Linked DNA regions of Homo sapiens: region 2 is linked to region 1. Evidence: promoter capture Hi-C in 16 types of primary human blood cells and fetal thymus (Javierre and others, 2016). All regions are on one chromosome and are shown on one strand. The core of a region is centred on a gene start or on the middle of the fragment in contact, and the rest is flanking DNA. Distances in the headings are between cores, read along the strand shown.

What was found. Contacts are between HindIII fragments. The CHiCAGO score rates a contact against its expected background, and 5 or more counts as called.
Region 2: a fragment that was not itself captured here is called in contact with the fragment with the promoter of ATOX1-AS1 in region 1 in 1 of 17 cell types (monocytes); the score reaches 6.1 in monocytes.

What each region holds. Positions count from the first base shown.
Region 1 is chr5:151,750,083-151,755,368 of GRCh38, forward strand. It overlaps ATOX1-AS1 (ATOX1 antisense RNA 1), which reads left to right and starts at 2,998. Exons shown (of 4, transcript XR_007059008.1): 1 at 2,998-3,227; 2 at 3,591-4,040. ATOX1 (antioxidant 1 copper chaperone) reads right to left here. Exons shown (of 4, transcript NM_004045.4): 2 at 1,622-1,697. The HindIII fragment of the contact is 3,507 bases long and covers 1,627-5,133 here.
Region 2 is chr5:151,548,785-151,553,843 of GRCh38, forward strand. FAT2 (FAT atypical cadherin 2) reads right to left here. Exons shown (of 24, transcript NM_001447.3): 6 at 4,393-4,603; 7 at 2,683-2,822; 8 at 1,806-2,087; 9 at 511-721. It also overlaps a transcript of SLC36A1 not described here. Among named protein-coding and RNA genes, the nearest start is that of MIR6499, 29 kb to the left of the region's middle. The HindIII fragment of the contact is 1,720 bases long and covers 2,476-4,195 here.

The sequences.
Region 1 (5,286 bases), core at 1,748-4,247:
AGAAAAGAAAAAATCTTAGAAGGCTGACTGAGCACTGGCATTGCCAAAACTCTGATCACAACTCAGTTATTACCTCACTGAGTCCCAGGACCAGATCCCAGTCCTCTCTGGGCCTCAGTTTCCCCAGCTGTAAAATGACAAGGCTGGATGAGACTGATTGTTCAAAAGAGGTGCTTTAAGAATATCTGCATGTGGCCAGGTGCGGTGGCTCATGCCTGTAACCCTAGCACTTTGGGAGACCAAAGCAGGCGGATTACTTGAGGTCAAGAGTTCAAGACCAGCCTGGCCAACATGGTGAAATCCATATCTATGAAAAGTACAAAAATTCACCGGAAATCGCCTGAACCCAGGAGGCAGAGGCTGCAATGAGCTGAGATCATGCCACTGCACTCCAGCCTGGGCAACAAACAGAGTGAGACTTCATCTCAAAAAAAAAAAAAAAAAAATCTGCATGTGAGTGATTCAAAATTAATTTAAATTTTTTTTTTTGAAGTAAAGAAACAGAAAAAGACAAAATTTTAAAAATTTTTACCTTTTTTTAAATCTTTCCTTTTTTTCTTTCTTTTTTTTTTTTTTTTTTTGGAGACAGGGTCTTGCTCTGTTGCCCCCACTGCAGTGCAGTGGCACGATCTAGGCTCACTGTGGCCTTAACCTCCCAGGCTCAAGCGATCTTCCCACCTCAGCCCCCTAAATTAGCTGTGAGTACAGGCATGTAACACCATGCCTGGCTAATTTTTTTGGTATTTTTTGTAGAGATGGCATTTTACCATGTTGCCCAGGCTGGTCTCGGGAACTCCTGAGCTCAGGCAATCTGCCCGCCTCAGCCTTCCGAAATGCTGGGATCACAGGTGTGAGCCACCGTGCCCAGCCCCATTTAAAAAACCTTAATAGAGGCTGCGTAGGGTGGCTCGCGCCTGTAATCCCAGCACTTTGGGAGGCCGAGGCGGGCAGATCACCTGAGGTCAGGGGTTCGAGACCAGCCTGACCAACATGGAGAAACCCCGTCTGTACTGAAAATACAAAATGAGCCAGGCGTGGTGGTGCATGCCTGTAATCCCAGCTACTTGGAAGGCTGAGGCAAGAGAATTGCTTGAACCTGGGAGGCGGAGGTTGCAACAAGCCGAGATTGCACCATTGCACTCCAGGCTGAGCAAGAAGAGCGAAACTCTGTCTCAAAAAAAAAAAAAAAAAAAAAAATTCAATAGAAAATGACACTCAGATGTGTCATGCAGTACACACTGGAGATGACCAACATATGAACTAGTACTGCCATGGCTCCAGAGCTACTCCTGGCAGTACTAGTTAATTTGGCTAAATCCCAGCTCTGCCATTTACTGACCATGTGATCCCAGATAAGTTATTTAATGTTTCTGAACTTCAGCTGTCTCCTGTTTAACATGGAGCTAGTAAAAAAAAAACTATCTGAAATGGCCGTGGTGAGGATTAAATGATGTGATTCACATAAGCCACTAAGAAAATAACAAGAGTAGTTGGCACGTGCTAAGTACTCAATATATTTTAGTTTTACTGTTATGATCAGCTTAACCCTAAGTCTCTCCTGCAACATCTGCATGCATCTGAACATGGCATAAGTGCACCCAACTCAGGGCCACTCACTCACCTCCAAGCTTATTGAGGACCCGAGAGACAGCTTCAGCACAGCCTCCACAGGTCATGTCCACAGAGAACTCGTGCTTCTGAAACAAACACAGGGGGACCATGACCCGAGCCCTGTAGAGTGACCCCCACACAGTGCCAGCAGACAGGCCCACTCAGGGTCAAGACAGAAGACAGAGAGACTGGGCAGGACCTGGTTGGCATCAGACTCATCAGAAGCCTGTTTCTGAGCCCGTCTCTTCAACTATAGAGTAGCTAAGAGTTTCTACCTCACAAGTTGTATTCAATGGAATCATCCCTATAAATCCTTTAGCAGTGTCTGGCACATAGTAAATAGAATCACCTGGAGATCTAGTTTAAAATGCTTTTTCCCAGTCCTACCTTCAAAACACTGATTCTTGAGCTATGAGCTTTGTCTCAGGGCCACCAGTAACTCTGACAGGGATGGGCCCCCATACTCTGAGCAATGCTGATCTGGTGGGCCCACTTATGAACCACAAAATTATTTTCTGCACTAGAGTCACCTACAGCTTGCAAAAACTACAGGTTCTGGTCAGCAGGTCTGGGCTGGGGAATCTGTTATGTCTACTCATTACCCCAGGTGATTCTGCTTTCATCCAAGGGCCGCATTCTCAGAGGCAGCATCTGGGTCCAGGGAAAGAAAGGATTGCCTGGGTTCCCCAGTGGGTTGGAGGCCAGGCAGGAAGGGATCCCCGGCTCCTAGTCTTCATGTAAGCTCTACATTCTACAGTCTCTAGGATATCTAACAGATCAAGGGTCTGAAGGTAAGCTCCCAGAAGACAGAGGTTTTGTTCAGTTCACTACTGGATTCCTAATACTTGGAACAGTGCCTGGACAGAGTAGGTGCTTAAAACTTATTTTTGAGTCAATGGATAATTGACATGGCTGGTTTGAACTTCTGGATCTTTTGCTTTGCTTTCACACAAGGATTACTTATACCAATACTTTATTTTAAAATCTCTGGAAATGAGACCATCTGAAATCAGATAAATATGGCTTCAGATACCAGCTCTGGCACTACTAGTTGCATGATCATCAATATGTTACTTCTCTGTGCCTTAGTTTCCACATCTGAAAATTGAGGGTAAGAGTCCCTCTCTAGATTTGTGAATGGGATGAACACAGGATTTTAAGTACGGTTAGCCAGCATCCAAGATGGCCTCAATGATCTCTGCCTCTGGTATTTATGCCCTTGAGTAATCCCATTCCACATGTCTCGGGTTGGTCTGTGTGTCTTATAGAATATGGCTTGAAGTGAGGTTATGTGGCTTCTGAAGCTATCACAATGTCATAAAGGACACTGTGACTTCTGTCTTGCTCCATTTCTGGGGTCACTTGCACTAGAGGAAGTCAGCTACTAAATTACAAAGAAATTCCAGCAACCACAAGGAGAGGTCCACAAAGTGAGAGATTGAACCCTCGAGCTAACAAGCATGTGAGTGAGACATGTTGGAAGTGGATTCTCCAGCTCCAGTCAAGCCTTCAGATGAATGCAGCTCCAGCCAACATCTCACTGCAGCTTTATGAGAGCCTCTGAGCTGGAGCCACTAGGCCAAGCTGTTCCCAAATTCCTGACTCTCAGAAACTGTGTGAGTTACTATAAATATATTTGTTGTTTTATACTACAAAGTTTTGGGATAATTACTAAGGAGCAATAGATAACTAACACATTAAGGAAATTAGAGCCTAGTACTAGGTTCCGTTGGGTAAAAGGTTAGCTATTGGATTATTAATTTCTTCCATTTGTCTCTCCTGTTTCCCTTCAAAAATCAATGGCTACATTTTTCATGGAGCACTTCAAAATATTTGAAGTCTATTACCTCAGTTGGAATCCTGGGTGTAGTGATATATCTTGCTAGAAAACCACAGGCAAAATCTCTGCTCCAGAAGGGCTCCAGTTCCCTAATCTATACCAAAAGGGTATTAGCTAACTCAATTTTTTTCAACTTTAGTGTGCATAGGAAGAATCTGGGGACCTTGTGGAAAGTGCAGCTCCCAGACACCTGCCTCAACTGACTCTGTGGATGTGGAGCGGGCCCTGCCACTCCCCATTTTTAACCTACTGGGGAGAGAACGGGAGGCAAAACTACAAACCTGAAAATAAAGTGGCTAAGTGGCTTCTCAAACTCTTTCCAAGTCTCTAAACACCGCTGAGTCTGGATTGTCACTGTGCTCTACAGAGGAAACGAAGACCAAGAATTAAGCAGCTCGATTTTCCAGTGCAGACTGTTTGACCTTTGTGACTAGTAAACCACTCCTTTTATTAAGGCCAAATCTGCAAAATCTGTCTTAAAGAAAATGGTCAGTCTTTCCTTTCTTCTAAACATCTCTGATTTTTTCATCTTGTTTCCTGACTATTCACAGACAGCAACAATAACAGATTCTGGAAAGAAGGATTTGTAGTAAGTATTACAAAATCTTGTCTTTAAAATGTGGTCCTCAGCCCAACAATATGAGCATCACCTGAGAGCCTGTCAGAAATGCAGAATCTCAGGTCCCTTCCCAGAAGTCCGGAATCAGAATCCTCATTTTAACAAGACACCCAAGTCATTCCTCCCCACATTACAGTCTGAGATGATGCTCTCCTCTATTAAAAAGTTTTTTTAGGCTGGGCAATGTGGCTCATGCCTATAATCTCAACACTTTGGGAGGCTGAGGCAGGTAGATCACCTGAGGTCACAAGTTTGAGACCAGTCTGGCCAACATGGCAAAACCTGTTTCTCTACTAAAAATAGAAAAAAAATTAGCCAGGCATGGTGGCAGGTGCCTGTAATCCCAGCTACTTAGGAGGCTGAGGCAGGAAAATCACTTAAACCCAGGAGTTTGAGACTAGCCTGGGCAATACAGTGAGATCATGGCTCCATTTAATTTAAAAGAAAAAAATTGTTTTGGAAAAAAAAATGATGATGCTCTGGAACATGGATTGGCACACTACAAACTACCTGTTTTACAAAGAGTTTTGTTAAAACATAGCCCAAATCGGGCCAGGTGTGGTGGCTCATGCCTGTAATCCCAGCATTTTTGGGAGGCTGAGGCGGGAGGATCACGAGGTCAAGAGATCGAGACCATTCTGGCCAACATGGTGAAACCCCATCTCTACTAAAAATACAAAAATTAGCTGGTAGTGGTGGCATGCGCCTGTAGTCCCAGCTACTCAAGAGGCTGAGGCAGGAGAATCGCTTGACCCAGGAGGCGGAGGTTGCAGTGAGCCAAGACCATGCCATTGCACTCCAGCCTGGCAAGAGAGCGAGACACCGTCCAAAAAAAAAAAAAAAAAAAAAGAAACACAAAAACAAAAAACTACAGCCAAACTCATTTGTTTACTTTTGCACTAGAATGGCAGAGTTGAGTAGTTGTACCAGAGACCCTATGGTTTGTGAAGACTAAAATGTTTACTATCGGTGCCGTGTAAAAAAAAAAGTTTGCTGAGTCTTGCTCTAGGATAACCAGCAGAAAATCAATTCATCTATGGTTTGTACTTATATACTGAGCCAAAGCTTTGAAGGGTTTGCAAGATCAACATAAGAGCTAAATCTACTGATTGTCTATTACATGTCAAATTATCTTTGTACAGTATCTAAGTTAGTCCTCACTGAGCCTGGAAAGAGAGCTATTTATCTTATTTCACTCAGGAGGAAAGTGAAGTTC
Region 2 (5,059 bases), core at 2,086-4,585, 200 kb before region 1:
TACATTTTCTCTTTTAATCTTTGCAATGACTTTCTGGCACAGGTAAGATTATTCCCGTTTTTGAGATGAAGAAACCCATAAAATAGATAAACCCATAAAATAGATACTAAATCACTGTGGAGCCTTATCAGAAAATAAAAATTACTTCTAAAACTATGCCATACACTTCATAAAGTGTTCTAAGATACATGCATGAAGTTATTACATTTTTAAATGTTGCATGGACTTCATAAATATCTTCTACATGTTTGGTCACTGGTGGGTTTATATAATATATATGCAAATTCTCCCACAGCATGAGTGGTCCTTACTCATATTGTAGTAATTATGTTATTACTACCTTTGGAAGTGCATTAATTTAGGTAGTCCCAGGGAATGCTCTAGAATTATTGTTTGCCAAGGCTTAATGAGCTTGGTACTTGATTAATTTGCGAATTCATGCCTCTAGTGCTTTCCTTTATTTCTAAAGCATCTTGACCCATCCTCTGAGCTCATGGCCAGGCCTCTCACCTTTCAGGAGGGAGTAGTGGACCTCAGCATTGACTCCCCGGTCAGCATCCATGGCTCGGACCTGCAGCAGCTCTGTGCCGGGGGCTATGGTGTCAGGAACACTTGCCTCATAATGGAGCTGAGTGAAGCGGGGTGGGTGGAGGTTTCCATCCTCCACATGAATGGTCACCCACACGAAGTTCCTCTTGATAGGTATTTCCTGGTCTCGGACCTATGGGCCCAAAGGGGGTAATTGGGTAAGCAGCAAATGGAATAGGAGGAGGCAGGGTTAGGGTAAGGTTAATGAACTAGAATGCCAATTTAAAATATGCCCAATTGTAACTAACTCCCCATATTCTTTTAAATGTTGTTCTAATCTATATGCTCTTTTTCTTCATTTATGTAAATGGATCAGTCAATGATTCCTAGGCTCAGCTGTTTTAATGGATAATTCTATTTTAGGAGAAAGACAGAAATAGGCAGAGAAGCAGTGTTTTCCAAATTACATCTCAGAGAATACTCATTCTTCAAGATGTTAACATGTCATGCAGGAAAAAAAAATTATATGGTCACATAAATTTGGGGAGCACTGAATTAAATGCAGTCAAACAGTTTTCTTTGTTGCAGGACTTCTCAGAGCCTTGAATACGTATTATATGCCCAGAGGATGATAAATTAGCACATAAGAACCCTGATCTTTAAGACAGGAGGCCAGGCTCCGATTCTGGTTCCATCATAAATAACTGTATGACAGTGAGGAAGTCTGTCTTTCTCTGTGGGTCTCAGGTGTAAGATGAGACAAATGGGCAGGGTCAGGGATAGAACTAGGGGGAAGCAAGTGAGGCAAGTAGGGTGCAAAATTTAAAGAGGCTCTGACTCTTGGGGTCATAAAAATGCAGGCACATGGCCCAGAGAGTGAGCCCTCCTTACATTTTGTGTCCTGCATGCCTTGCTGGCCTGACCCTAGTCCTTGCTCTCAGTGGGAGAGGCTCTGTGTCCCTTCCAGCTCTGACATTACATGAATCCACATTGTGTCATGAAGTCACTGAGCAGGGAGAGAGCTCTTGGGAAATATCTGGGGTGAGTCCAGAGAAAGCTGAGGTTGACAGGAGTTTCCTTGGCAGCCGTCCCATCTCTACCTTCACTTCCAGGCATCCCTTATGGAAGGTGCCCTTAGCCAGCTGTGAAATGTCACAACTCTGTCTCGTGCATGGTCCTTATGAGGGGAAGGGGGACCTTCAGCATGTCTCCAAGCATGTCCACCCCTACACATCTACATGCAAACGTATTCTCACCAGATTTTTCCATTTACTCACCATGACTGTCAGTGTGTGCTGGGAGGGCCCCGAGCCGAGGTCCAATTTTCCCACCGTTACCAGGACACCACTGCTTGGGTCCAGCTGGAAGAGGCTGGCACTTCCTGGGTCTTGGCTGCCATGTATGGTATAGATGAGGCTTTTGCCCTTGTCTTGATCTATGGCCTGGACTCGCAGGAGCTCTACCCCTGGCACGGTGTCCTGGGGAACTCTGACTTCATAACGAGTTTCCAGAAACTGGGGCCGATGGTGGTTAATGTTGGCAATCATGAAGATGTGGACCTAGGGAGGGAGATGAGGGAGAAGGTGCACTGCAAGCCCCAGGGGAACAGGGACTGGGTCTGTCTGGACCTCCCTGTATCACCCAGGCCTAGCACAGTGCCTGGCACTCAGCAATCACTTGATAAATATTTGTTGAATGAATGACAGTATTTCAAAATCAAAAGACCTTCAGATGCTGCACAGTCTAGTGTTTTTCAAAAACAAAAATTTTCTGGAAGGGCCTTTCCATCAAGTGAAATGTTGTGTGAAATCCAAATGTAAGAAACAGATAAAACACTGGCTGAAGCTAGAATAGAAATTCAGAGCCCCACTTACCCAACCATCATCCCCCTATACCCATAGTAGCCCCATTGTACTCTATCTTTAATTAAAACTGCTCATTTAAACAAGCTTCCAATTATAGACAGATCCAGAGTGGGAGAAAGAATTCTCCCAGGATCACAGAAGTAGAGAGTGTATTAGACAAGAACTTTGATTCTAAATTCAGTGTTCCTTGAGGAACACCACATCCACAGAAAACCTCTGTAGCCTCATCCCAACCAAGAAGGCCTTCCATCTCCTCTCAATACAGGGGTCCCCAGCCGAGGCCTCTAACCTGTGTGGCAATGGTGCGGGACCCATCTGTCACCTCAACAGTCAAGTTATAGTTCGACCTTCTCCTGGTATCAAGAGGCCTGGCAATGACGATGCTGCCTGTGGTCTTCTCAATGTCAAAGTCCATGTCCTTATCCCCACCTAGAGTGGGAGTGGGGAGAAAGCACACACAACCTCAGTGATTTAGGCAGCATAGCATAAGATAGGCTTTGGTTGTCAGGCTCAGAGGACACGGTGGTAAATTCCACAGTACAAGATCTGAGTGACAGGTTGTAGTTTATTCTCCCAGGGAGTCCCAAAACTGTAATTTATTCTGTCAAGTTGTTGTCAAGTTATTTTTATTTGAATTTTATTAATAAATCAAATTGATTAATAAACTATAAGAATCCAAATGTAACAACATATTTTTAAATGTCTAGTATATAGAAATATGTTTAGTGACATGGAAATATGTTCATGATATATTACATTTAAAAATATTATAAAACAATACTTTAATATAACCCTAAGGGTGTGTGTGTGTGTGTGTGTGTGTGTGTGTGTGTGTGTAAAGGAAAAATGACAAAAAGGAAACACATCAACATTATAACAGTGGATTATCTTCTGATTGGTGGAACTTTAGGTGATTTTTATTTTCTTCTCTGCATTCATTTGTGTGTGCTTATTTACTTATTTATAGACAGGCTCTCACTCTGTCACCCAGGCTGGAGTGTATGGTGCAATCATAGTTCACTGTAACCTTGGACTCGGCCTCAAGTGATCCTCCTACTTCAGCCTCTCAAGCAGCTGGGATTACAGGTGCGAGCCACTGTGCCCAGCCCATATGTGTTTTTGAAATGTTTTAGAGGGTACATGCATTAATTTGGTATTAAAGAAAAAAAGTCAAACAAAACAGCCGTAAGCCAGAACTGGAAGTAAGTTCAGGAGGTTCAAAGAGCTTGGGTCAAGGGCATATATCCTATCCTACTCTTAGCCAGGACAGAAAACTGTACCAGGACTCCATGTTCATGTGGGTGCTGAAACTCCTAGAGATTTTTAACCTGGAATCCCTGGATGGGTTTCAAAGGGCCTATACATCCTCTAAATTGTATGCAGATTTACATTTGTGTGTGTTTGTGCACACAACTTTCTGGGAAGAGGACCTAAGCGTTCGTCAGATTCCTGAAGGGTTCTGTGACCCCCAGATGTTGAAACAAAACCTTGATTTAGAGACAGAGAGGAATTTCAGAGAAGGCCATCAGAGCCCGGATCCAAGTGCCTCGTAGAATGAGAATGGGCACTTTCCCCTGATCTCAAGGGTGAAACCTGGAGCCAAAACATTGAGCATGGCCCCAGGGTATAGCTTATGGCAGGCTCACGGTCAACTATGATTTTCACATTGAGGTAGGAAAGGAAACACAAAGCATTTCTGCTCTGGGTCTTCCTGAACCATTTTAGGTCTCCTAGGCCCTTGGGGTAACTGAGGCACTGCCAACTCTGGCTGGGGTTAGAGATCGTGGCTGGAGTGAAAGGAAAGCTTGGCAGACGTGGCATTCTTACTGCCTGTGCTCCCAGAGAACCAGGGAAGAGGCAGTCCCCACTCCGGGCTGAAAGAGGGGCTGCCGAGGAGCCCGACCTTGAGAAGAGTCAGAAGGACTGTAGCAGGAAAACTAGAGCTGGTGTATAAGGATGGGAGGGGTTGGCCCTTGTTGGGCCCTAGGCCTTGCCTCACCTGAGATGTTGAACCAGAAGAGTCCGGGTCTGCCCTCTACGCTGATGACCCCCACCATGTGGTTCACAGGGTCCGTCTCCATGACCGTAAAGCTGTAGTAGGTCTCATCAAAGGCCAGAGGGATGGAGGACGGCCGGGGCCAAGGGATCCACTCAATGTGTAGCCGGACACTGGCTGAGAGTGGTGGCTGCCCACTGTCTGTTGCCTTGATCTGAAAGGAGGCCAACACCAAAACTGAGGTTTGGGGCCAAGAGACAGGAAGACCCAAGCAGCCAGGACAGGAACCAGAGCGTCCTGTGATTCTGACCAAGCAGGCCTCTCATCCAGTCATTCATTCATCTGATGCATACTTGAAGGCTTGCTGTAAACAGGCACCCTGCCAGTTGCTGCAGGCACGGTGGTGAACAAAACGTATAACCTGTGCTCAAGAACCTCATGGTTAGTATAAAAATAATAAATGCCACTGTTAACTGAAGACTTACTGTGTGCTACTTCCTAAATTGAACTTTACATACATATGCCCTTTGCTTTTCCCAACTACCATAAACCTAACAAGCTAGAATTTATTGAGCACTCACTATTATCAGGCCTTGTTCTAAGAGCTTTGTGCGCAATATCTGATTTAATCCTCACAATAACCTTGGAAGAGGTCCTGTTATCATCTGTC